Linked DNA regions of Homo sapiens: regions 1, 2, 3, 5, 6 and 7 are each linked to region 4. Evidence: promoter capture Hi-C in human tissues and cell types (Jung and others, 2019). All regions are on one chromosome and are shown on one strand. Each heading gives the region's core, a stretch centred on a gene start or on the middle of the fragment in contact. The rest is flanking DNA. Distances are from core to core; before and after follow the strand shown. Region 1 overlaps PUM3 (pumilio RNA binding family member 3). Region 2 overlaps LOC101930053 (a long non-coding RNA gene). Region 3 overlaps LOC101930053 (a long non-coding RNA gene). Region 4 holds the start of VLDLR (very low density lipoprotein receptor). Region 5 overlaps PUM3 (pumilio RNA binding family member 3). Region 6 overlaps LOC101930053 (a long non-coding RNA gene). Region 7 has its middle 250 kb from the start of VLDLR.

The links. The method cuts DNA at HindIII sites, captures the fragments that hold promoters and counts their contacts. A contact is called where the count stands out against the background at its distance.
Region 1: a contact is called between a fragment that was not itself captured here and the fragment with the promoter of VLDLR in region 4, in 1 of the 25 tissues and cell types used here (dorsolateral prefrontal cortex).
Region 2: a fragment that was not itself captured here is called in contact with the fragment with the promoter of VLDLR in region 4 in 4 of the 25 tissues and cell types used here (heart left ventricle, lymphoblastoid cells, mesendoderm cells and 1 more).
Region 3: a fragment that was not itself captured here is called in contact with the fragment with the promoter of VLDLR in region 4 in 4 of the 25 tissues and cell types used here (aorta, dorsolateral prefrontal cortex, mesendoderm cells and 1 more).
Region 5: a contact is called between a fragment that was not itself captured here and the fragment with the promoter of VLDLR in region 4, in 1 of the 25 tissues and cell types used here (mesenchymal stem cells).
Region 6: a fragment that was not itself captured here is called in contact with the fragment with the promoter of VLDLR in region 4 in 2 of the 25 tissues and cell types used here (heart right ventricle and ovary).
Region 7: a fragment that was not itself captured here is called in contact with the fragment with the promoter of VLDLR in region 4 in 2 of the 25 tissues and cell types used here (IMR-90 fibroblasts and heart left ventricle).

What each region holds. Positions count from the first base shown.
Region 1 is chr9:2,835,049-2,839,050 of GRCh38, forward strand. PUM3 (pumilio RNA binding family member 3) reads right to left here. Exons shown (of 18, transcript NM_014878.5): 2 at 3,378-3,469; 3 at 2,132-2,353. The coding sequence starts at 3,459. Among named protein-coding and RNA genes, the nearest start is that of PUM3, 7.0 kb to the right of the region's middle. The HindIII fragment of the contact is 7,995 bases long and covers 1-4,002 here.
Region 2 is chr9:2,424,580-2,428,367 of GRCh38, forward strand. LOC101930053 (a long non-coding RNA gene) reads right to left here. Exons shown (of 6, transcript XR_001746603.2): 4 at 818-961. All of the region lies in intron 2 of LOC105375956 (a long non-coding RNA gene), which reads left to right. Among named protein-coding and RNA genes, the nearest start is that of VLDLR, 200 kb to the right of the region's middle. The HindIII fragment of the contact is 5,833 bases long and covers 1-3,788 here.
Region 3 is chr9:2,444,576-2,448,584 of GRCh38, forward strand. All of the region lies in intron 3 of LOC101930053 (a long non-coding RNA gene), which reads right to left. Among named protein-coding and RNA genes, the nearest start is that of VLDLR, 180 kb to the right of the region's middle. The HindIII fragment of the contact is 8,299 bases long and covers 1-4,009 here.
Region 4 is chr9:2,619,281-2,623,113 of GRCh38, forward strand. It overlaps VLDLR (very low density lipoprotein receptor), which reads left to right and starts at 2,507. Exons shown (of 19, transcript NM_003383.5): 1 at 2,507-2,991. The coding sequence starts at 2,910. VLDLR-AS1 (VLDLR antisense RNA 1) reads right to left here and starts at 3,093. Exons shown (of 4, transcript NR_015375.2): 1 at 2,820-3,093. RefSeq lists an enhancer at 2,049-2,343 and silencers at 2,222-2,301, 2,912-3,181, 3,452-3,541, 3,552-3,641. The HindIII fragment of the contact is 11,914 bases long and covers 1-3,833 here.
Region 5 is chr9:2,818,344-2,822,128 of GRCh38, forward strand. It overlaps PUM3 (pumilio RNA binding family member 3), which reads right to left. Exons shown (of 18, transcript NM_014878.5): 13 at 1,675-1,755. Among named protein-coding and RNA genes, the nearest start is that of PUM3, 24 kb to the right of the region's middle. The HindIII fragment of the contact is 3,005 bases long and covers 687-3,691 here.
Region 6 is chr9:2,400,946-2,404,944 of GRCh38, forward strand. The region is part of intron 5 of LOC101930053 (a long non-coding RNA gene); the gene reads right to left. Among named protein-coding and RNA genes, the nearest start is that of VLDLR, 220 kb to the right of the region's middle. The HindIII fragment of the contact is 3,278 bases long and covers 78-3,355 here.
Region 7 is chr9:2,372,722-2,376,425 of GRCh38, forward strand. No RefSeq gene overlaps it. Among named protein-coding and RNA genes, the nearest start is that of VLDLR, 250 kb to the right of the region's middle. The HindIII fragment of the contact is 5,218 bases long and covers 1-3,704 here.

The DNA.
Region 1 (4,002 bases), core at 952-3,451, 220 kb after region 4:
ACCAAAACCTAGCTATAGCCACTGATAATTTTCCCCTTGCTTCTTCTCCATACATGTTTTAATCTTTAAAAACTCAAAAAGTGGCCAGCTGCAGTGGCTCACGCCTATAATCCTAGCACTTTGGAAGGCTGAAGAAGAAGAATCATTTGAGGCCAGGAGTTTGAGATCAGCCTGGGCGAAATAGTGAGACCCCGTCTCCACAAAAAATTAAATTAAAAAATTAGCCGGGTGTGGTGGTACATGCCTGCAGTCCCAGCTACTTGGGAGGCTGAGGCAGGAGGATCACTTGAGTCCAGGAGGTTGAGGATGCAGTGAGCCATCATCACGCCATTGCACTTCACAGTCTGGGCAACAAAGTGAGACCCTCAAAAAAGAAAAAAATTCAGAATCTGCCTTCACTCAATATGATTAGATTATGTTTGCTCATGAAATTAACATTCCTCAAGAACATAATTTTTAATGGCTATCCAATATACTACAATGTATTTATTATTCCTTTATTGTTTACTTATATATTCATTCCCTGTCTGGTAATACAAAAGATTATAGGCAACAGAGGGCATATTTACCATTATATTAATATGGTATCCTCTACTATACAATAGAGGATAGGAACTGATCCAGGGCTAATTTAATTCCATAAATATTTGGGTACCCTTGACATATGTCATGCTAGGCTGCAGTACATTTATCAGTGTGGGGGTTGTCTAGTAACCAATCTCTCATGTTATTTTATCAGTCTAGTTACTGATACAAAAATATGAGAAAATGAAATCCAGAGTCCCATTTTGAGATATCAGGAACATATCTCCCATAGCAAAAGAAATCATAACTTTCCTCATATCAATGTGAGAAATTAATGTATATGTGTTTAAAATGCAGGCATCAAAAACTCCAGTAGAGAAAGAAAGATTTGGGATCTAGTAGAGAGGTTAGGAAAGAGAAAGTAGAAAAGAGAGCTGGAAGAGAAACTTCTGGCAATTGGGGAGGAGGAAGATGAGGGAGAAAGAAAAAATGAAAAGAGAAGATCAAGACTGGAGCATGAAAAGATCCTGGAGCCCTAATGGGAAACGATGGCATTTCCCCTCCTTCCTCTCTCCCTACCTCCTTGTCTTAAGGCTGCTGTCCCTCTGGTAAGCAGCCCTTAGGCAGGGTAAAAAGCAAGCACCAGGACTAGGGGATGGCACTGAGAAAACCATCCCCAGTGGTCTCAGCTGGCAACAAAGGAGCAGTGTTAAGACACGCTGTGCTGGAGAAAAAGAGAATAAAAGGCACCAGAAAAATTCTCAGGATGTTGCAAAGAAAGTAATGATATGACAATCCACATAACCTGGAAACTGCTTGTTTGAGATCAGTGCAGGACAAAGCACGACAGCGGAATGTTATAAAATAGAGAGCAAAGTTCTGGGTTAGAAATGACCCACTGAACATCGTTGACAGAGATGGGCAGTTTGTTTCAACAGACAAGCACGAGACCTGCCAATACTTCCAATCAGTGAGCAACTTGTCCTGAATCAATTAAAATCAAATCTGTCATGTGTGCACAACACCTTCTCTGGAACTACTATGGATCTGCGCCATCAGAGGGATTTATTGTATTAGACTGGCCTAAGCTCTGTGAAGGCAGGGTCTCTATGTTTCTTGCTCACCAAAGCATCCTTAACCAAGGCTGACACTTAGCTGGGGACAGACTGATTCTTTAAAGCCAGATTCTATGATTAGTTGGGGCCTGTATCCTTACTGATTATTTTTGTGTGTGTGCGTGTGTGTGTGTGTGTTTTGCCCTATCTCCTGGTACAATGCATAGAAAACTCAAATACTCGTTCGATGAACGAATAAATTTTAGCTTATAAAAAGAAATGTTTTATTGAGGTTCCACTGTATAAAGCCATTATAATTTAACTTAACTCCATGGCTAAGGTAATTCAGAAAAGGGCTAAGAAATAAGAAACTCTAAGCACCAGAGGAAAATTGTGAGCATGAAAGATGCTTTGTTGTTTATTTAAGCCACCTACCTGTCCCAAAATGTTACCTGCCAAGGAATAAGAATGTGAGGTTTCTAACGCACCTCCAGAGTCCCTGTGCACAATCGTTCAGGCACTAGTTCAGGCATGAACGAACCAGTACTTACCATCGCTTCTACCATCTGGCTGGAATTTTCTCTTCTTGTTGAATTTATTTGCCGGCTGGAATTTGTTCTTTGGTGATTTGTCCCCTTGCTGCTTATTCTTGAACTGCTTTACACCCTTTTTCCCAAGTTTTGTGATACTTTTCTCAAAGTTCCTAGATGTGACTTTAGGTCCACCTTCTTTAGCAACTTTCCTTGTTGGAAATGTCTTTGAAGAACCAGAATCTAGTGACAATAATAATTATAAGTTCAATGATTCTGGGCCCAAATCTCTTTTATCTATTGGATTATATCCATTACAGAAAATTATACTTTTTAATCCCAATACCATGTCTTACTCTCAAATATGCAACATATAGCCTTTTGAGTAGAACTGGATTTAAACAATCAAAACAAAAATAAAAAATTCTTTCCTTGATTATAAAACCACCTAGAGAGTAGAGAAATGTAAAATAAAAGCTACCCATGATTCTACCACTAAAGATAAACACTGGTGTCAGTTTGGTATGTTTCTCTAGTTTTAAGCATATAGCAGAGCTATTATTTATATACCTTTGTATTCTGCTTTAATGATGGTCTACACAGAATTTTCAAGAGTTCAATAACAAAAGAAGTCTTAAGAAATGACTTCTTGAACATTCTTGAAATTTGGAAAGTATATCATAAGGACATCTAAAATGTTAATTTTAAAATTTTCTAGTTTTAAGAAAATTTTAAAGCCTATATTAAAATTATTTATCAAAAACTTTTGATCAAGAAGGCTTACAAATTAGTACCTAACAAATGAGATGCAAACAGTAATGGCTAACATTAAGGAAACATTAATCATTTGTATAGTCCCTTGACTTTTCTGTTTTACAATACTGACACCTGATGGAATAATAAAGACATCACCATTATAAATTCTGAACCTAAACGTATTTGGCTTATGAGCAGTATGTATTAAACAGTCCTAATTTATCAAATGTTAAAATAAAATGTATGGTGAACTAGTGTGAATAAAATGAGGCAACAGCAGCAACAACTGAGATAAGGAGTCTTTCATGAATAAGGCATTCCTCAATCATTCTTGCAATTTCTTAAGTGTCTAAATGTCATGAGCAACATGTTAACTCATACACAATAACACATACTTCTTCCTACTATTTTAATCCTAATCCTAGCCAATGAATACAGATTGAAATTTACTACATGCCCTCCCATCCCCCAATTATAACAGCCAAACACCCACATGGGAAGCATATCTTACCACTATTTTTATGAAATCTGTTTTTTTCTTGTGCTGTCTTTGTACTCTTTCCTGTGAATTGCTTTTTCCCTTTAACTTCCATCGTAGCAACTCTGGAAAACCAAAACCAAAACCAAAAACAATCACTGCAGTTCTCTTCATCAAATAAGAGCTGTTTCATAGTCATTGCCACATTTAGTCCTTCAGTCTACAAATACAATACAAATCAGCCAGATATAGAATGGACAAGTACTTAAATCCAGCAATTTTGCAATCACTGACTCAAATTTTAAAACTGAAAATGAACAAGGTATCAATAAAAAAACTAAGAACAACACACACCCTGGCCAGTGTTTGATATCTCTGGAGGCATCACTTCACTTCCACAATAGTACTGGCTAAAAATAGACCACTATTGACACTAAGTATAATAAGCATCAGAGTTTGCATTTTGTAACCTGGGAAGACTAGGGGATGAATAACTGACAAAATTATCGCTTGATTTCTTGGAGCCTAAAAAGCCAGGAACAAACAATAGGCTGCATGTACCACTACATGCATTTAATATAAGAAAATAAAGGATTATCTGAAAGATTCCTATGCAATCCAACACAGCTAAAACAAAGATTAGCATCCAGTGTTTAAT
Region 2 (3,788 bases), core at 1,190-3,689, 190 kb before region 4:
TTGAGTGAATCAGTGTACCTTATTTTTTCTAATTTGATGCCAAATCTTCAGCTCCACCTCCCTTCCCTAGCATAAGGCCAACAGCCCAAGGCTACAAGAAAACCTGGCCTTTCCCTGACACTGCCTTGGCCTTGATTGCCTCAGTGCGGAGAGTAAAACAAGCTGTCAGACTCAGCTCCTGCCCTATCCTTGAGCTCTAATAACCTCAAGCTTTTACAATTCCAACCAAGTTTAAAATTCTAGCTTGTTGATGTGAGTGGGAGTTTGGAATGCTGGAGGGGAAGGGTGAAAGTCAGGTCAACAAATGAGATTTGAAGTGGTTTTCCTTCCTCAAACGCAAGCCTCACATCAGGACTCTGAACTCAAATGGCCTCTCCTGAATGAGAGGGAGGGGGACACATGTAGGGAAGGCCAGGAGAGCCCAGCCATGGGTGTAGCTGAATGTTGTTTCAGAGAAAAAACAAGATTTCTCTCCCTGAAGACCACTGGGTACTACTTTCAGAATTTACATAAGAGAGAAATAAGGTGCGATCTCAATCTGGGGAAGAAAGTTAAGGAGGTGATTGGAGGAGGACTCTGTGGAGGATGTGGCTTTGTTCAACACATCCGTAGACACTGGTTTTACAAGGCCACGATCGATATGCTACTGATATATAATAGATGATATGATTGATATGATACAATATGATTTAATGTAATACAGTAGTATAGCAATTCAATATAATGATACCAGTAACTAAAATTCATTGATCATTCACTGTGTGATTAACACAATGCAATGAATTATCCTTACAGGACTACTCATAATCATACTTACAGGCAAGTTTCATTATAATCCACAGGCTGAGCAAAGTCACTCTGTTAAACGGTGGACTCAGGACTCAGGACTGCAGGGCTCTCTGCCTCTAGAACCCTCCTCTTCACCATTTTGCTATTTTGCTTCCATTTGTCTCTTTCCTACCTGGGTGTTAATGCATATAGTAGTGAAAAGGCCAAGTGGTGACTACAGACAAAGACACTAAGCAAGGTTAAGTGAAAAACAGCTCATTGGGATAAATATTTCACTGGCTAGAAAAAACGAAAGAAATAACACCAAAAAGTTATTTTAAATGTTCAGAGAACAAAAGAGTTAAAAGTTTCTTGTTTTAAAGAGTTCAAGAAAGTAAAAAACATAAGAGGAAATACAGTTTTGATAGGAATTATATAAACAGATGAACTTCTTTCTCCATCATAGAATGCATGAACATTTATGTGTGTATTATGGAGATTTTGCAATGCCCTTGTGGTTTTTTTGGCAGTCATTCTCTAGCCTATATAGTTCACTCTTTTTCTAACTAACTCAAACACTCACTTTATTCTTTCATTCATTCATTTACCTAGTCATCCGTCAGATGTTTATTCAGTCTCTTCCACGCACTGGGTACCAAGGAGGATAATGGAAGCTTAAGAATAAAGAGACACTGTCTCCTGCCTTAAATGGGATGGAATTTAGTATGCTCAAAAGGCAATTTTCCCCTTCAGATCCCCCTCAGACTCACTCCATTGCCTGTGAATGGTCCTGTGCAATAGAGAGAACTCCTTTAGCCCTCTGGCATGTGGTATCGCCGTACTGCAGGGAGTTGCCTATCTCTGATTTAGGACTGGAAGTGGAGGTTCAGAAGATGAGAAAATGTGGAGAACAGAGGACAGTAGATATGTTCCCTGTCTGTCTGATTGAAGCGAATTCTGGTTCAGGAACCCCCTGGGAAGTTCTATGACTTCAATATCCTATGGGATTTTGAAAACATCAAAGCTTCCTGGAATTGATCAACCCATCTTGGTTCCTTAAGATTTCCCTTCCACCTACTGGGAGGCACTAAGCTAAGGGTAGGGTAGGTACATGGGGCAATGTTTATTTCCGGCCCCACTCTAGAGCTAACCTCTGCTACTGGATGCCTGAAACCACATGCCTGATTGTAGCCTTTGGCTTGACTCAAGAATCCTAATGAACCTCTCCAGCACATTTCTCTGTGTACTGGAGAACCAGTGATGAACACTATTCTTGAAACATCGCTAGAATTGTCCATACTTCTTTTCTGTATGACACCTCTTTTCATTTGGTTGTTTTCTTTTAAATTTTATTTTGCTAAAATTCATAGTGAGGTAGGTTTACATTCTCACAAAATATAATACAGGCAATCAAGAGATAGTCTAGGAGCCTCTCTTAAGGCTCCTATTACACACAGCCCCCAAGTACTGGGACCCCTTCAGACCATCTCATTTTTAGGAGGTGTTCCCAATCACTAACAATGGCCTGTGTCAAAATGCCTCCCCATAGTGATAGCCAACGTCCTGAGCAGGTGTCTATGTCTCAGGCAGCTGGTCTCTGTAAGGGGTATCCAATTATGATGAGGCTCCAGGAAGACGTATATGGGTGTAATGAGAAGGATGACGGAATGGGACCCAGGAGACACCCCACAACCACTATCACCAAAGCCTGGACATTTGTTCCTGCCCATTTCTATGCCCATATTTCCTCCTTTGCAAAATAAATAGTTCAGACTAGAAGAGGCCTCAGGTGCTATCGAGCTTAGACGATTTATGACCTTCTGAGTACTGTAAGTGTTACCTGCTTTGGCAGTTTGCACTAAGAATCGGACTTTAGAGATTTGGCACACTCTGATGTTTGTTCAGTTGGTAAGTGTGCTCAGTTTTTGTGGCATGTGTCTACAAAGCACAAAAGCCTTGGTTTCTCTGGACTTCTGAAGTGCAAGAGATTGATAGCAATCCCAGCCCATTCCCAGGGAGAGACGCAGAAACAACTCTGTGAAAGGTTACTTTGGTCTCTATGGGAACCACTCTGTGCCCTTGACAGAGAAGACAGCTTGGGGAAGGGAGGCACATCCGAGAGCTCTGAAGCCTGGGCAGAATGCCCCATGGGCCCACAATGCCACATACCTGTGAATGGAGAGAAGGGAACAGGCAGTCCCAGTGTGCATATTTGGAATCCAAAGTCCTATTTGACCTTAGATATTTGGAAGTAGGTGGGACCTGGAAATGCTAACACCCAGAGGCCGTGCAGTGTAGTGGAAAGAGAACTGGCTTTGGAATCAGAGGTTCTGGTTTGACTCTCAGCTCTGCCCTTACTAGCTACGTGACTTGGAGAAGGTCTCCTAACCCTGCTGAGTGTGGGTTTTCTTGTCTGTCCAGTGAGAAGCATTAGGTCTTTCCTGATGATCTCATAGGGCTGATGTTTCTGGTTACTTTTCCTGCACACAGTGTACAACCCCCGCCCCCCGTGATGCGTCAGTCACAGTCTAACAACAATATTAAGGAAGGATAATGATAAAGTTAATTTTTGTGGAGAATATAACATTGATGATATTGCTACCCACTGTTGCATTCTTAATATGTACTAGGCACTCTGATAAGGACTTCAGAAACATTAATTCATCACCTGAGATCACATGGTTGGTAAATCACATGGCAGAACTAAACTCAGACGCTCTGACTCCAGAGCCAAGGTCTTAACCCAGTGCGTGGTTCATCCCTCCTAAGCCAACAACCAGATTTCTTCCAGTCCTGGCTTGTAGAGAGTGAGAAAGATGTGCTGGCTTGTCTACTCACATATTAACAAACAAACAAACAAACAAATAATTAAGCAAATCAGTCAAATCCTTTAAAAGAGTCAAACACAGCAACTTTGGAAAATCATATGTTAAAAGATATTTATGGATCAGATTAAATAAATAAATAAATGTATGAAAAAAATGTGATTCTATTTTCACTAATGGTTAACCAACATTGCT
Region 3 (4,009 bases), core at 150-2,649, 180 kb before region 4:
GAAATAAAGATGTTCTTTGAAACCAATGAGAACAAAGACAAAACATACCAGAATCTCTGGGACGCATTCAAAGCACTAAATGCCAACAAGAGAAAGCAGGAAAGATCTAAAATTGAAACCCTAACATCACAATTAAAAAAACCAGAGAAGCAAGAGCAAGCACATTCAAAAACTAGCAGAAAGCAAGAAATAACTAAGATCAGAGCAGAACTGAAGGAAATAGAGACAAAAAAACCCTTCAAAAATTCAATGAATCTAGGAGCTGGTTTTTTGAAAAGATCAACAAAATTGATAGACTGCTAGCAAGACTAATAAAGAAGAAAAGAGAAGAATCAAATAGACGCAATAAAAAATGATAAAGGGGATATCACCACCGATCCCACAGAAATACAAACTACCATCAGAGAATACTATAAACACCTCTATGCAAGTAAACTAGAAAATCTAGAAGAAATAGATAAATTCCTCGACACATACACCCTCCCAAGACTAAACCAGCAAGAAGTTGAATCTCTGAATAGAGCAATAACAGGCTCTGAAATTGAGGCAATAATTAGTAGCTTACCAACCAAAAAAAGTCCAGGACCAGATGGATTCACAGCCAAATTCTACCAGAGGTACAAGGAGGAGCTGGTACCATTCCTTCTGAAACTATTCCAATCAATAGAAAAAGAAGGAATCCTCCCTAACTCATTTTATGAGGCCAGCATCATCCTGATACCAAAGCCTGGCAGAGACACAACAAAAAAAGAGAATTTTAGACCAATATCCCTGATGTGTTCATCAGGGATATTGTTGTTTCGATGCAAAAATCTTCAATAAAATACTGGCAAACCGAATCCAGCAGCACATCAAAAAGCTTATCCACCATGATCAAGTGGGCTTCATCCCTGGGCTGCAAGGCTGGTTCAACATATGCAAATCAATAAAAATAATCCAGCATATAAACAGAACCAACGACAAAAACCATATGATTATCTCAATAGATGCAGAAAAGGCCTTTGACAAAATTCAACAACGCTTCATGCTAAAAACTCTCAATAAATTAGGTATTGATGGTACGTATCTCAAAATAATAAGAGGTATCTATGACAAACCCACAGCCAATATCATACTGAATGGGCAAAAACTGGAAGCATTCCCTTTGAAAATGGGCACAAGACAGGGATGCCCTCTCTCACCACTCCTATTCAACATAGTGTTGGAAGTTCTGGCCAGGGCAATCAGGCAGGAGAAGGAAATAAAGGGTATTTTTTTTTCAATTAGGAAAAGAGGAAGTCAAATTGTCCCTGTTTGCAGATGACATGATTGTATATCTAGAAAACCCCATTGTCTCAGCCCAAAATCTCCTTGAGCTGATAGGCAACTTCAGCAAAGTCTCAGGATATAAAATCAATGTGCAAAAATCACAAGCATTCTTATACACCAATAACAGACACACAGAGAGCCAAATCATGAGTGAACTCCCATTCGCAATTGCTTCAAAGAGAATAAAATACCCAGGAATCCAACTTACAGGGGATGTGAAGGACCTCTTCAAGGAGAACTACAAACCACTGCTCAATGAAATAAAAGAGGATACAAACAAATGGAAGAACATTCCATGCTCATGGGTAGGAAGAATCAATATCGTGAAAATGGCCATACTGCCCAAGGTAATTTGTAGATTCGATGCCATCCCCATCAAGCTACCAATGACTTTCTTCACAGAATTGGAAAAAACTACTTTAAAGTTCATATGGAACCAAAAAAGAGCCTGCATGGCCAAGTCAATCCTAAGCCAAAAGAATAAAGCTGGAAGCATTGCGCTACCTGACTTCAAACTATACTACAAGGCTACAGTAACCAAAACAGCATGGTACTGGTACCAAAACAGAGATATAGACCAATGGAACAGAACAGAGCCCTCAGAAATAATGCTGCTTATCTACAACCATCTGATCTTTGACAAACCTGACAAAAACAAGAAATGGGGATACAATTCCCTATTTAATAAATGGTGCTGGGAATACTGGCTAGCCATATGTAGAAAGCTGAAACTGGATCCCTTCCTTATACAAAAATTAATTCAAGATGGATTAAATACTTAAATGCTAGACCTGAAACCATAAAAGCCCTAGAAGAAAATCTAGGCAATACCATTCAGGACACAGGCATGGGCAAGAACTTCATGTCTAAAACACCAAAAGCAATGGCAACAAAAGCCAAAATTGACAAATGGGATCTAATTAAACTAAAGAGCTTCTGCACAGCAAAAGAAACTACCATCAGAGTGAATAGGCAACCTACCACGAATGGGAGAAAATATTTGCAATCTACTCATCTGACAAAGGGCTAATATCCAGAATCCACAATGAGCTCAAATAAATTTACAAGAAAAAATCAAACAACCCCATCAAAAAGTGGGCAAAGTATATGAACAGACACTTCTCAAAAGAAGACATTTATGCAGCCAAAAGACACATGAAAAAATGCTCATCATCACTGGCCATCAGAGAAATGCAAATCAAAACCACAATGAGATACCATCTCACACCAGTTAGAAAGGCTATCATTAAAAAGTCAGGAAACAACAGGTGCTGGAGAGGATGTGGAGAAATAGGAACACTTTTACACTGTTGGTGGGACTGTAAACTAGTTCAACCATTGTGGAAGTCAGTGTGGCGCTTCCTTAGGGATCTAGAACTAGAAATACCATTTGACCCAGCCATCCCATTACTGGGTATATACCGAAAGGATTATAAATCATACTGCTATAAAGACACATGCACACGTATGTTTACTGTGGCACTATTCACAATAGCAAAGACTTAGAACTAAGCCAAATGTCCAACAATGATAGACTGGATTAAGAAAATGTGGCACATGTACACCATGGAATACTATGCAGCCATAACAAATGATGAGTTCATGTCCTTTATAGGGACATGGATGAAGCTGGAAACCATCATTCTCAGCAAACTATCGCAAGGGCAAAAAACCAAACACCGCATGTTCTCACTCATAGGTGGGAATTGAACAATGAGAACACATGGACACAAGAAGGGGAACATCACACACCAGGGCCTGTTGTGGGGTGGGGGGAGGGGGGAGGGATAGCATTAGGAGATATACCTAATGTTAAATGACGAGTTAATGGGTGCAGGACACCAACGTGGCACATGTATACATATGTAACTAACCTGCACGTTGTGCACATGTACCCTAAAACTTAAAGTATAATAAAAAAAAAAGAAAGCAAGCATATATTTTGGGGGGGTTGTAATATTAACCAGCTAATTTGCTATTTCTTGTTCATCTTTTCCTATAGTTTTCAGTGAGCATATGGTGTCCTTTCCTTGCTATAATACAGCTTTGTCCACCTACCTCCTTTCTGCTGTTATGATCAAGTATATTATATTTCTACATGTTATAGGTCTGCAATATAATTACACACATATTGCTTTATACCATATTTTTTTAAGTAAGTTAAGAGAAAGGAGAAGAAATATGCATTTATGCTATCTTTCATAATTACATAATCACCTCTCTTAGTGCTTGGTTTCTTTATGTAGATTTAAATTACTGTGGTCACTTGCTTTCAGCCTGAAGAACTTCCTTTGCTATTTCTTGTAAGGCCATTTCTGTATTGTAGCAGCTTTAGATAGTGATTTTCCTCCGTTTCCTGTGCTTGTTCATGTTACTTGCTTATTTATTTAGTAACTTGGGTAGGGTATTTTATTAAGTCCATTTCCCATGCAGTGTGAAGCCTCTGATGTCATTCTTATGAGGGTTCAGTCTTGGGCATGGGCATAGTCACCCTGGGATGACCGGTTTTGGCAGGCTCTCTTTGTCTCTATTTCTTATCTGTCTCCTAAACTGTATGTCTCTGTAGCACCACATCCAGCTGTTAAGTTTCATTAATTGCTGGCTGATGACTCCATTTTTTAAAAATAATGTGCTGGTGCATAAATTGCTTCACACTCTGATCCAATTAAATTTGGGTGTCTTGGCAGGGCCAGGCTTTGAG
Region 4 (3,833 bases), core at 1,257-3,756:
CACTTCTGTATGCCCACTACTTTGCACAGTGCCCGTTAGCCAGGGATGCTCACTATGTGTTGCTTCAACAAATAAATGAATGTGGTGGATTGTAGGAGTGAATGGGATTGCCTCTGCATTTACCTGACGGCGTCGGGAATCCAGCAGTGTCAACTTCTCTGAACCCAGTTAGTTCAACCATTTCAGTCTCCACTTATGATCAATTAGCTCTGTTAGTTCAACCACTTCAATATCCACTTATCATCAATTTATCTTTTTAGTTATTAGCTACTTTCTATCATAATCCAATGAATTTCTCCATACAACCTTTTTCTTCTAATAAACAACACCTTGCAGAGAGCTGGTCCTTGAGGCCACGGAGCACTTTGATATAATGTGGCTTGGCTTTCTTTTCAGTTTACAGGCCAAAAGGCAGACACAGAGAGGCACAGTGATTTTTCCCAAGTTACACAGTCAATCAGAGATGGAGCCAAAAGTTATGCTTTCTTTTGAGTCAACAAAAAAGCTACAGGATTGAATACAGAGCTGCAGCTAAGTTCACTGAAAGTTTATTTATATCCCTTGGAGAATTAGAAAGTACTCACACACGTTTTTCAAAGTTAAGTCTTATTATACCATATCAATGTATAGCTTGTAGTATACCTGTATCTCTGAGTAAAGTATTAAAAACAAGTCATATGACTGTTTATTAATGCTGCCTCTTTTTGTATTGATTCCACCCATCCCTTCTACTCCTTTCCTCTTCTGTAAAGCAGTAGCTCATCAGATGGCATTTCAGAACCCTGAGAATATGAAAGACATCATGCACTAAGGTTTTCCTATCACATCTCAATGCCATTAGGTGAATAACACCGGCATGCATCTTCACTACTAAATGTCATACAAACAAATTTCAGTTGTTTCACATGCAACCTGTGTGGCTGCTGCAGTTTGTATCAACTATGTAACCACAGGGTGGGCAAAATAGCATTCAAAATGAGCTATAGTGCAAGATACCATCCATACGTAGAGTTAAGCCCTTTCATGCTTAGCAGTCACAATCAGGATATCTTTGGCCCACAGAAACCTATCCTGACTGGAATTTTCCTCTCCTGTGTGTCTCCTGGATATAGTAAGTTCCTAATAAACATCTCCTCTGATTGCTAGCCTTGACAAATTTCCAGGAGAACCAGGGCAAGGAGAAGACAGTGAGGCAGTGCCCGCTGCTCTTCAGATCACCAACAGAATAGAGTCAGAATATGATATTATTGAAACCTTCCAAGTTTGAATTAAGATAAAAACAACTTTTTCAAAATACCAAAAACCTTTTATTTAAGAAAGTGAAATCGCTCGATGTGCCCTCCCACTCTGGTTAGATGCTCAACAGACCACAGCAGACAATGCACCTCAACCAGGGCTAAGTGTGCAAGAAAACTGAAGTACACAAAAAGCAAATTATAGACTCAGGTACTGTCAGGCACAAAAGAAGAACCAACCCTTTCTAGGAGTCTTGTCTTTGCTTCCTTTATTCTTTCCTCGATTCTTGTAATTGAATGTTACAAAGTATATCAAGAGGAATAAACGTATGGGGCCCCTCTCTTCCAAACAAGAAAAGGTTAAGCTTTTAATTACAGGCCCTCAAACTATCATTTTGTGCAATTAGCAATTAACTATAATCGTTGATGAGCAAATGCAAAGCTGCGCTAGCAATTTCCCTTCTCCTCATCCCAGGCTGGGTTATTTCAGTCTTGTTCTATTACAGAGGACCAGCCACAACCGCGCGCACTCTCTTTCAAACATACACACTCTCTCACTTAAAGACACATTTAGTTTTCGGCAAAACGGCATCTCAGCGTGCGATTGAGACCGGCATCCCAAACCCCACTTTTGAGCAGCCCAAACGTTTGGAGCCCCTCCGCTTCATCACTTTCTGAGTGGATAGAGGAGGCCCGAAGAAGATGCTACCTACCAGCCTCTCTCAGGGGCGCAGGAGAGGGTGGTAGAGAGATGCTTGTTGCCCCTGGAAACTGCAAGTACCCCCCAGGTGCACGCCCCGTCAGTGGGGAGGCGGTGGCAACAGCAACGATAGTTGCATCAGCGCTAACTGCTGCTGCTGCTGCGTGTTCTGCCGGAGGCTGCCGGGAGGGTACAGTAATGACTGTAGGGAGCGCACAGCCGCTGCGGCGGCAGGTTCCCTGGATCAGGAAATTAGGACAGGCACCCGGGATTGGAGGCGAGGGCGGCGCGCGAGCCAACCAGCGGTCGCCCCGGGCCCCCGTGAGCCCCAGGCGAACGCGCGGAGCAGCCGGGCCCCTAGAGCGGTCCGGGTGGCGGCGGCGGCAGCCACGACCACGACCGCGGTCACTCACGCACGCTCACACTCGCACGCTCCCCGCGCGGGCACCCGGCTGCCCGGCGCGTGCAAGAGGAGCGCGTCGAGGGAAAGGAGGGCCGAAGCCGCCGCGCTCCCGCCCGCCCGCCGCGCCTCCCGTTGACCACGCCCCCTCCGGCCCCCTCCCCGCTGCTCACCCCGCTCTCCGGCCGCCGCCGGTGCGGGTGCTCCGCTACCGGCTCCTCTCCGTTCTGTGCTCTCTTCTGCTCTCGGCTCCCCACCCCCTCTCCCTTCCCTCCTCTCCCCTTGCCTCCCCTCCTCTGCAGCGCCTGCATTATTTTCTGCCCGCAGGCTCGGCTTGCACTGCTGCTGCAGCCCGGGGAGGTGGCTGGGTGGGTGGGGAGGAGACTGTGCAAGTTGTAGGGGAGGGGGTGCCCTCTTCTTCCCCGCTCCCTTCCCCCGCCAACTCCTTCCCCTCCTTCTCCCCCTTTCCCCTCCCCGCCCCCACCTTCTTCCTCCTTTCGGAAGGACTGGTAACTTGTCGTGCGGAGCGAACGGCGGCGGCGGCGGCGGCGGCGGCACCATCCAGGCGGGCACCATGGGCACGTCCGCGCTCTGGGCGCTCTGGCTGCTGCTCGCGCTGTGCTGGGCGCCCCGGGAGAGCGGCGCCACCGGAACCGGTGAGTGAGGACGCGCCCCTCCGCCGGCGGGCGGGACCCAGCCGGGGCACCGGGAGACCCCGAGGCGTAGGTCTCCGTTTGCCCACCCGCCTCCTAGGAGGCGCCTCTCGGTTCTCCTCGCCTTCCCTCCCTCCCCTCCGTGGTGGCGCCTCTGAGCTGTCAGCGCCGAGGCTAAAGGGAGCCGGGCTTGGGGAACAGCGGGGTTCGGGGTGCCCCGACGCCTCGCCTGAACTAGTCTTCTGCCCCTCACTCCGCCTCCCCCAGAGCCGCTGCTTCGCCTCGTTTCTCGCCCTCTTGACGGGCGCCGAGGTGCGTGGGCTTCTGAGCATTGAACAATGGTTCTGCCTCCTCTGCCAGGCGCAGTGTTGGGAAGGAGGCAGAGGGCCAAGACGTGTGCGGCAGCCTCGGGCGCACCCTCGAACCCCGGGGAGTGCGGGAGCGGACGGGGGGAGAAGGTGAGCGCCTCCGGGGACGCGGAGCGCCAGGGGCCGGCCGGGCTTCAGAGTCTTCCGGCGGCCGCGAGCTGGCGCACGTTCGGTGGGCGGCGGCCGGGAGGCTCCGCGGAGCCGAGGGCACCCGGACTGCGACTCCCCCGGCGCGGGGCCGCCTCTCCGGCGTGCGGGGTAGGGGAGCGGCGGGGCTTTACGCAGGACTCTGCTCTGGGCGCTTCTCCTCTCCCTTTTCCCCGCCTCGGGCGGCGTTTGGAAACCGCTCGGGTCTCCCGTGTAGCTGAACGCGGAGGGGGAGTGGAGGGGAGACTTAATCAGGTTAGTTTGCTGACCCTCCTTCCCGGTGACGTTTCCTCGAGAGGAATTGAGTCCTAGGCTAGTGACTGTAATTAG
Region 5 (3,785 bases), core at 939-3,438, 200 kb after region 4:
TGGGAATCAAAGTGATAAGCATAAGGAATTAAAACTTTTTCAACAGCAACTTTAAGTGGCATACATCTTTGGAAAAAAATTAACAGACAATTCTGGCAAATCATGAAGGAAATTTGGTTTCTCTTGAAATCCATTTGGAACAGCTATGCACATTTTAGTTGTCGTGAAAATATTAAACAAAAGCAAACTTTCAATATCCCAGCCTGTTTCCATTTCTGTGAAACAACTTTATTCATCAGCCAATTCTATGGCCTCACATCTCTGTCACAAGAATGAAAAACAATCATTATTGATTGGAGTCAAAAGGGTAATAAAGTCACAAGGAACATGTCAAAATACTCAGTTTGTAACATGAAAGTCTTGCCAACTTGTTTCTTCCCACAATCCTATCCCAAAGAAAGTCATCACAATCTTAAAACAGTCAAGGGTAAAGTTGGAAAATGACAGCAAGGGCATGAGAAATTCACACACACTGGGACCTACGGCTGGCATCTAAGAAAACAATCTTCCCCTCCACTAGCTGGTATACTTTTTCTACTACACTCAGCTCTACTGATCCCAGGAGGCTACAAAGAGAGACCACAACACCACCACCTGACAACAGGTAAATTCTCTTTTTGAATCATCATATTCTTCTTTCTTGCAGATGTGAAAGTACCACATGTCATCACTAAGATTTCTCCAAGGGTCCCATTTATGTATATCAAACAGAAAGGCTTGTGTAATTTTCAGATGAATAACCTATGTCTATACAGATTATGTGGTTTTCCAGACGTTTCCAAGTTTGGTCACTACTATCAAACTAGTATTTTCTTATCCCCACCCTGCTGCAACCTCTACCATATACTCAACACCACTCATACACTAAAAACAAAAGAAAAGACAATTGTAGAATCAGAAAAAGAGACTATTGATGCAGAATGAAGAAAACACATAGTTTAGAATGCAATTTTTACTTTGGAGTACTTCCCCTAAGAGGACAATTGGTTTTTCTGAAGGCAACGTTAGCGATAAATACACTACATTCAAGTATTACCACTTTATGGCCACTACACTGGACTAGAAGGAATTTCTGAAATGTCAAAAGGAAGCTAGAGTTTTAATTTTAGTAATAACTTTTAATCTGACCCTACAAAAGCTCTAAGAAGCATCACAACTGAGTGAGTTTTGTACATTTCTCTTCTCCATCAGCTCAATCCAGCACAGATGCATTGATTAACTGGGTAACTGTGCAGAGGTAATTATTTCTCCACAGGGAGAGAGATAATTTAATAGGTCACAGATACTCTCTGCTTGTATTTGAGTTCTGGAATAACTAAGGAATTACTATGCTAGTTTCTGATCATATCTAAATATCACTTTGCTAATTTTCCATAGTTTAGAATCACGTATGTTCTAAAGTACCATGTTATCCTAATCCAAAATAAAAGTGTTAAATCTTAATTTGACCAGTCTTAAATATTTAAAACAGTATTAATATCAAGTTACAAGGTTAAGATTTACACAGGAATAAAACAAACCTCCAAAATAAAACATAATTAACTTAAAAGTAAGCAAAAATACTGATAGAAGGCACAGCTGCAAGTCTTTACACATGCATGGTGAAATCAAGCTTACACATCCACAACTGGTTTATCGATGTAACTTAAATTCAAGACCATCAGGATTACTTACTGATATGATTATCTGCTTCACAAGCTTAGTATCATCAATACAATCAAATGCCGCCAGTAAAACCAAATGGGAGTATTGGCCCTGCAAGAATTGGAAGCCAGCAAAGGTTAAAAACAAGTGCATAGATCTTCCCTCTTATTTCACACATGGAATATCTTCATAAAGGTAGAGCGAGACTCCGCTCAAAAAAAAAAAAAAAAAAAGATTACCTACATTGACAACTTGTCTAACATAACAAGATGAATAAAAGCCATTTTAATGAACTTCCTCTCTTATCACGACCTCATTAATTATATTCTAGAGGTAAGGTTGATTTTTTTTTAAAGCACATTATTCATTACCAAATAGTCTAAAACTAATACCTATTTACATAGGTTACTGTTAATGAATAGCTACTTGAAAATTATACTTAAAAGTTCAAGTTATAAGATTAACTTCAAAAAACCTACATATATAAACACATATATGATACTCCAATCATGAAAAAGAAAATATAAACTCATACAATTTTACACACATACACACACACACACGATATACATAATACATGTACACAGAAAATCCTGGAAGGCAAGGCATTGTAATAGTCATCTCTGGGTTATACAAATGATTTTTAATTTTCTTTTCTATATTGCTCAATTTCTTTAAAGTGATCTCACAAAATTAGAATATAAATATGAAAAAATAAACTAGAAGAGTATAATTATACACTGAATGAGAATGATATAAAAATCATTACTTTAAAAAAAGTATAGCTGCATGAGATCACAGAAATACACATGTGGCTTTCACAACACTCATCTTTTGAAATAAAATTATTTCCATGATGCTAATACTGTTCCAAACATTTAAAGAACACCTACTTTATGTTAAGAACAAAAACAAAAGAAAACAAAAACCTGTTTCCAGAGCTTGTGGCATGAGTATCCTGGATGTTGATATAATTGTTTCAAACTCTGATAGGAATTTGATTTTTGATAATAGCCCACAATCATTCAGAGCCAGATCTGATAAATATCACAGATAATACAATTTCAATTAGAAACAATAACGAAGTTGCTAACTGTAAAGTCAAAAAGACAAACTGAAGACAAACAACAAAGGTCTTACTATACAAAGACCAACAACCAACTAAAAATGGGCAAAGCCAGGTGCGGTAGCTCACGCCTGTAATCCCAGCACTTTGGAAAGCTGAGGCTGGTGGATCACGAGGTCAGGAGATCGAGACCATCCTGGCTAACAGGGTGAAACCCCATCTCTACTACTAATACAAAACATTAGCTGGGCATGGTGGTGGGCGCCTGTAGTCCCAGCTACTCAGGAGGCTGAGGCAGGAGAATGGCGTGAACCTGGGAGGCGGAGCTTGCAGTGAGCCCAGATCGCGCCACGGCACTCCAGCCTGGGCGACAGAGCAAGACTCTGTCTCAAAAAAAAAAAAAAAAAAAGAACATGAAGAGTCAGATCACACTAAAACAGAAGTACAAATGTCTTTAAATGTATGAAATAATGCTTTATGAACTAATTAAGGACAATAATTAAAACAATGAAATGCCATTTATCCTATGGGTGATGGTGAAAACCTCTGACAATAGACTAATTTATCAAAGGTTTAGGGAAAAGCAGGCACGCTTTTATGTTGATGAGAATGTAAAGTGGTTCAACTTCTTTGAAGAGCAATTGACAACACCTATACAAATTTAAAATGCAGGTATGAGCTGATCCAGTGATTCTAGTTCTAGGGATTTATCTTGCAGACGTGTTTCCATGTAAGTACAAAGACTTACATATGAATATATTCACTGGGGTACTAATTGTAATTTTAAAAACTCTAGAAACTACCAAAATGCCCAACAGTGGGGACTGGTTAAATAAATTATGGTATAGGCACACGATGAAATATTACAGTCACTAAGAAAAGTGAGGTAGACAGATGTATGTATATTGAAATAAAATGACCCATAATATGAATTAAGTGAAGGAGACAAAATATAGAACAACGTGCCTAGTACAAAATCACTGGTTTCAGTTCTCTTAACTCGGACACACATAAGCATAACCAAGCATAAAATATTTCTAGGTGAATACAACAGAAGGTGGTACAGAATTGAATG
Region 6 (3,999 bases), core at 467-2,966, 220 kb before region 4:
TGCCTTAAATATGTTATTTACCCAGTAGTCATTCAGGAGCAGGTTGTTCAGTTTCTATGTAGTTGTGCGGTTTTGAGTGAGTTTCTTAATCCTGAGTTCTAATTTGATTGCACTGTGGTGTGAGAGACTGTTTGTTATGATTTTCATTCTTTTTCATTTGCTGAGGAGTGTTTTATTTCCAATTATGTGGTCAATTTTAGAATAAGTGTGATGTGGTGCTGAGAAGAATGTATATTCTGTTGATTTGCGGTGGAGAGTTCTATAGATGTCTATTAGGTCCACTTGGTCCAGAGCTGAGTTGAAGTCCTGAATATCCTTGTTAATTTTCTCTCTCATTGATCTGTCTAATATTGACAGTGAGGTGTTAAAGTTTCCCACTAAGATTGTGTGGGAGTCTAAGTCTCTTTGCAGGTCTCTAAGAACTTGCTTTATGAATCTGGGTGCTCCTGTATTGGGTGCATATATATTTAGGATAGTTACCTCTTCTTGTTACATTGATCCCTTTACCATTATATAATGCCCTTCTTCGTCTTTTTTGATTTTTGTTGATTTAAAGTCTGTTTATCAGAGACTAGGATTGCAACCCCTGCTTTTTCTTCTTTCCATTTGCTTGGTAAATCTTCCTCCATCCCTTTATTTTGAGCCTATGTGTGTCTTTGCACGTGAGCTGGTTCTCCTGAATACAGCAAACCGATGGGTCTTGACTCTTTATCAAATTTGCCAGTGTGTCCCTTTTAATGGGGGCATTTAGCCCACTTACATTTAACATTAATATTGTTATACATGAATTTGATCCTGTCATTATGATGCTAGCTGGTTATTTTGCCCATTAGTTGATGCAATTTCTTCATAGTGTCGACGGTCTTTACATTTTGGTTTGTTTTTGCAGTGGCTGGTACTGGTTGTTCCTTTCTATATTTAGTACTTCCTTTAAAAGCTCTTGTAAGGCAGGCCTAGTGGTGACAAAATCTCTCAGCATTTGCTCGTCCATAAAGAATTTTATTTCCCATCACTTATGAAGCTTAGTTTGGCTGGATATCAAATTCTGGGTTGAACATTCTTTTCTTTAAGAATGTTGAATATTGGCCCCCACTTTCTTCTGGCTTGAGGGTTTCTGCAGAGAGATCCACTGTTAGTCTGATGGGCTTCCCTTTGTGGGTAACCCAACCTTTCTCTCTGGCTGTCCTTAACATTTTCTCCTTTATTTCAACCTTTGTGAATCTGTTAATTATGTCTTGGGGTTGCTTTTCCTGAATTTGAATGTTGGTCTGTCTTGCTAGGTTTGGGAAGTTCTCCTGCATAAAATCCTGAAGTGTGTTTTCCAACTTGTTTCTATTCTCCTTGTCACTTTCAGGTACACCAATCAATTGTAGGTTTGGTCTTTTCACATAGTCCTATATTTCTTGGAGGCTTTGTTCATTTCTTTTCATTCTTTTTTCTCTAATCTTGTCTTCATACTTTAAGTTGATCTTCAGTCTCTGGTATCTTCAATCGATCTACTGTTTGATCGATTTGGCTATTGATACTTGTGTATGCTTCATGAAGTTTTCGTGCTGTGTTTTTCAGTTCCATCAGGTCACTTATGTCCTTTTCTAAACTGGTTATTCTAGTTAGCAATTCCTCTAACCTTTTATCAGGATTGTTAGCTTACTTGCATTGGGTTACAACATGCTCCTTTAGCTTGAAGGAGTTTGTTATTACCCACATTCTGGAGCCTATTTCTGTCAATTCATCAAACTCATTCTCTGTCTAGTTTTGTTCCCTTGCTGGCAAAGAGTTGTGATCCTTTGGAGAAGAAGAGGCATTATGGTTTTTGGCATTTTCAGGCTTTTTGCACTGTTTTCTCCTCATCTTTGTGGATTTATCTACCTTTGGTTTTTGCTCTTGGTGACCTTTGGATGGAGTTTTTGCATGGTCATCCTTTTTGTTGATGTTGATGCTATTGCTTTCTATTGTTAGTTTTTCTCCTAGCAGTCAGGCCCCTCTTTGCAGGTCTGCTGGAGTTTTCTGGGGGTCCACTCCAGAACCTGTTTGCCTGGGTATCACCAGAAGAGGCTGCAGAATAGCAAAGATTGCTGCCTGTTCCTTCCTCTGGAAGCTTCGTCCCAGAGGTCACCCGCCAGATACCAGCTGGAGCGCTCCTGTATGAGGTGTCTGTTGACCTCTGCTGGGAGGTGTCTCCCCATCAGGAGGCATGGGGGTCAGGGACCCACTTGAGGAGGCAGTCTGTCCCTTAGCAGAGTTCAAGCACTGTGCTGGGAGAACCGCTGCTGTCTTCAGAGCTGGCAGGCAGGAATGTTTAAGTCTGCTGAAGCTCTACCCACAGCCATCCCTTCCTCCAGGTGCTCTGTCCCAGGGAGATGGGAGTTTTATCTATAAGCCCCTGACTGGGGCTGCTCCCTTTCTTTCAGAGATGCCCTGCCTAGAGAGGAGGAATCTGGAGAGCATTTTTTTTTTTTTTTGATGGAGTCTCACTCTGTCACCCACACTGGGGTGCAGTGGTGCAATCTCAGCTCACTGCAACCTCCACCTCCCAGGTCCAAGCAATTTTCCCACCTCAGCCTCCCAAGTAGCTGGGATTACAGGCACCTGCCATCATGCCTGGTTAATTTTTATATTTTCATAGAAATGGAATTTCACCATGTTGGCCAGGCTGGTCTTAAACCCCTGACCTCAGGTGATCTGCCTCCCTCAGCCTCCCAAACTGCTGGGATTATAGGCGTGAACCACTGTCCCCAGCTGAGAAGTGATCTTGAGATCTTGCCTAATCTCAGAGCTTAGCACATGGCTTTGCTCATCTACAGATTCCAAACAGCAGTATTACCTAGTGAGAGAAGACAATCTGTAACTCTGCTCAGAGGCAATCACAAAACTTAGCTAATAGCTCTGCCTAACTACAGAGTCCAGCCAGTGATCTCATCAAACTCTAGAGCACAGCCAGCATTTCCATTTGACCTCAAAGCGGTCAGCAGTACAGCCCAGCTAGAGAATCTGACAGCAAGGCCTGCCTGCCAGGACTTGCCACCAGCTGGGCCATCCAGAATCCCAGGCTAGACTAAACAGTGAAGGTTTATTGCTACTGAAGAAAATTAGCAAAGACTGGAAGAGGTAGCCATTTCTTCAAATGTGTAGACACTAGTGTAAGGTTTACAAAGATCCAGAGAAATATCACACCAAAAAAAGCAACTAATAAATCTCTAATAATGGACCCTGAATAAATGGAGATCTATAAAATGACTGACAAGGAATTTAGAATGATTATCTTAAAGAAGCTTTGTGAACTAAAAGAAAATATCGATAGAAAATTAAATACAATTTGAAAAACAATTTATGAAGAAAAGTGAGAAGTTTTAAAAAGAAACAGAATCATTTTTAAAAATCAAATAGAATCCTAGAGATAAAAAATACAACAACTGAACTAAAAAAAATTAATAGAAGCTTCAACAGCAGACTTGATTCAGCAGAAGATATTATTGTGAGCTTGAAGGCAGGACATTTGAAATTATACAATCAAAAGAGCAGAAATAATGAAAAAAAAAAGCCTATGTGAATTATGGGTCACTATCAAAAGAATGAACATTTGCTTAAGATTTTCAGAAGGAGAAAAGAGAAAACAGAGCCCAGAAAGCATATTTAAGTAAACAGTGGCTGAAATTTTCCCATATCTGGGGAAAGATGACAACATTCAGGTAAAGGAAGCTCAGAGGTCTCTAATTAAATTCAACCCAAAGGGAAGTTCACCAAGACACATCATAATTAAATTATCAAAAATCAAAGACAAAAATTCTGAAAGCAATAAGAGATAAGAAAAATATCAGATTCAAGGGAGTCTCAATACATCTATCAGCAGATTTCTCAGCAGAAATCTTGCAAGCCAGGAGAGAGTGGGATGACATATACAAAGTGCAGAAGGAAAAAAAACTACCAACTAAGATTACTTTGCCTGGAAAAGCTGTCCTTCAGAAATGAGGAAGAAATAAAAACTTTCCCAGATAAACA
Region 7 (3,704 bases), core at 48-2,547, 250 kb before region 4:
CCACTCCTATTCAACATAGTATTGGAAGTCCTGGCCAGAGCAACAGGCAGGAGAAAGAAATATAGGGCATCTGAAGAGAAAAAGAGGAAGTCAAACTATCCCTCTTTGCTGATGACATGATCCTATATCTAGAAAACCTCATAGTCTCAGCTCAAACGATCCTTCAGCTGATAAACAACTTTAACAAAGTCTCAGGATACAAAATCGATACACAAAAATCACTAGCATTTCTGTACACCAACAACAGCCAAGCCAAGAGCCAAATCAGGAATACAATCCCACTCACAACTGCCACAAAAAGAATAAAATACCTAGGAATACAGCTAGCCAGGGAAGTAAAAGATGTCTACAATGAAAATTACAAAACATTGTTCAAAGAAATCAGCAATGACACAAACAAACAGAACAACATTCCAAGCTCACGGATAGGAAGAATGAGTATCATTAAAATGGTCATACTGCCTAAAGCAATTTACAGATTTAACGCTATTCCTATCAAACTATCAATGACATTCTTCACAGAACTAGAAAAAACTATTTTAAAATTCATACAGAACTGAAAAAGAGCCTGAATAGTCAAGGCAATCCTAAACAAAAGAAGAAAGCTGGAGGCGTCACGTTACCTGACTTCAAACTATTAATATACTGCAGGGCTACGGTAACCAAAACACCATGGTACTGGTACAAAAACAGACGCCTAGACCAATGGAACAGAATGGGGAGCCCAGAAATAAGTTCAATATTACCGATTTTTAGAGAAATGCAAATGAAAACCACAATGAGATACTATCTCACATCAGTCAGAATGGCTGTTATTAAAAAGTCAAGAAATAACAGATGCTGACAAGTTTGCAGAGAATAATGAATGTGCATACACTGTTGGTGGGAGTCTAAATTAGTTCAACCATAGTGAAAAGTAGTGTGGTGATACTTCAAAGAGCTAAAAACAGAACTACCATTCTACCCAACAATCTCACTCCTGGGTATATCACCAATGGAATATACATTATTGTAGCATAAAGACACATGAAAACATATGTTCATTGCAGCACTACTCAAAATAGCAAAGACATGGAATCAACCTAAATGTCCATCAACAGCAGATTGGATAAAGAGAATGTGGTACATATATGCCATGGAATACTATGCAGCCATAAAAAGAATGAGATCATGTCCTTTGTAGGAACGTGGATAGAGCTAGAGACTATTTCCTTAGCAAACTAATTTAGGAACAAAAAATCAAATACACGTGTTTTCATTTAAAGTGGGAGCTAAATGATGAGAACACATGGACATAAAAAGGGGAACAACAGACATTGGGACCTACTTGAAGGTAGAGGGTGGGAAGAGGAAGGGTATCAGAAAAACTAACTATCCAGTGCTAGGCTTAGTACCTGGGTGATGAAATAATCTGTACAACAAACCCCTGTGACATAAATTTACCTGTACAACAAACCCGCACTTGTACTCCTGAACCTAAAATAAAAGCTTGAAAATATAAAATAAATAAATAAATAATATAAAAGAAATTGAAGAGGACAAAAGCAAGTAGAAGGACATCTCTTGCTCATGAATCAGAAGAATTAATGTTAAAATGACCATACTACTCAAAGCAATCTACAGATTCAATGCAATCCCTATCCAAATACCAATGACATCTTTCACGGCAATAGAAAAATATAACTCTAAAATTTGTGTGGAACCACAGCACCTTGAATAGCCAAAGCAGTCCTGAGCAAAAAGAACAAAGCCGGAGGTATCACACTTCCATACCTCAAAATATACGATAAAGCTGTAGTAATCAAAACAGCATAGTACTAGACTAAAAACACACACATAGAATAATAGAATAGAACAGAGAGCCCAGAGATAAATTTATGCACCTCCAGCCAACTGGTTTTTGATAAGACCACCAAGAACACACATTGTAGAAAGGACAGTCTCATCAATAAATGGTGCTGGGAAAACTGGATGTCTATGTGCAGAATAATAAAACTAGAACACCAGCTCTCACCCTATACAAAAATCAACTTAAGATGTATCAGAGACCTGAAACAATAAAACTACTAAAAGAAAACATAGGGAAAACGCTTTAGGACACTAGTCTGGGGAAATATTTTATGATTAATGCCTCAAAAACTCAGGCAACAAAGGCAAAATAAACCAATGGGATTATATCAAACTAAAACCTCTGCACAGCAAGAAAACAATCAACAATCAACAAAGACAATCTACAGAATGGGAGAAAATATTTGCAGACTATTCATTTGACAGGGTATTGATGCCCAGAATATATAAGGAACTCAAACAGAACTCAACAGAAAAAAAATCCCAAACAATACAATTAAAAAATGGACAAACCATCTGAATAAACATTTCTCAAAAGACATACAAATGGCCAACAAGTATATTAAAAATGCTCAACATCACTAATCATCAGGAAAGTGCAATCAAAACTACTACGAAAGAACATCTCACCCCAGTGATGTTTAGTATCAAAAAGACAAAAAATAACAAATGCTGCCCAGGGTGCAGAGAAATGCAAAGGCTTATACACTGTTGATGGAAATGCTAACTAATGCAATTACTGTGGAGAATATGGAGAACAGTATGGGAGTGTCTCGAAAAACTACAAGTAATTCTACCATATAATCTAGTAATCTCACCACTTAGAATTTATCCAAAGGAAAGAAAATCATAATATTGAAGAGATATCTGCCCTCCCATGTTTATTGCAGCAGCAGCACTACTCACAATAGCCAAGTTATGGAAGCAACCTAGATGTCTAACAAGAGAAAAATGGATAAAGAAAATGTGATATATACACAATAAAATACTATTCAGTCATAAAAAATGAGTGAAATCCTGCCATTTGCATCAACATGGATGGAGCTAGAGGACATCATATTAGTGGAATAAGTCAGGAACAGAAAGATAAACACTGAATATTCTCACTCCTATGTGGAAGCTAAAATAAGTTGATCCCAGAAGTAAAAAGTAAAGAAGAGGATACTAGAGGCTGGGAAGGGTAAGGAGAAGGGAGGGATAGGGAGAGATCTGTTAAAGCAGGGCTTCCCAACCTTTTTGGCACCAGGTACTGGTTTTGGGGACAACAGTTTTCCACAGATGGTGGGTGGGGGATGGTTTCAGGATGAAACTGTTCCACCTCAGATCATCAGGCATTAGATTCTCATAAGGCACACACAACCAAGATCCCTTGCATGCGCAGTTCATAATAGGGGTTGGCTTCTATGGGAATCTAATACCACCACTGATCTGACAGGGTGGAGGTCTGTTGGTAATGCTTGCTCACCCACTGCTCACCTCCTGTGTGAAGCCCGGTTCCTAACAGGCCACGGATTGGTACCAGTCAGTGGCCCAGGGGGTGGGGACCCCTATTTAAGGACAGAAAATGACAACTAGATAAAAAGAATGCGTTCTACGCCACTGTAGGATGACTATAGTCAACATAATATATGTTTTCAAACAGCTAGGACGATAGGAGGATATTGCATATTTCCAGCAGAAATAAATGATAAATGTTTGAGACGATGGATACGCTAATTGTCCTGATCTGATTACCATACATTATATGTATCAAAATGTCATTATGTACCCCATGAATACGTATGACTACTGTCAATTAAAACAAATAAACAAACAAACAAAAAAACAGACGAACAAAAACCCTTTGGAAACAAACC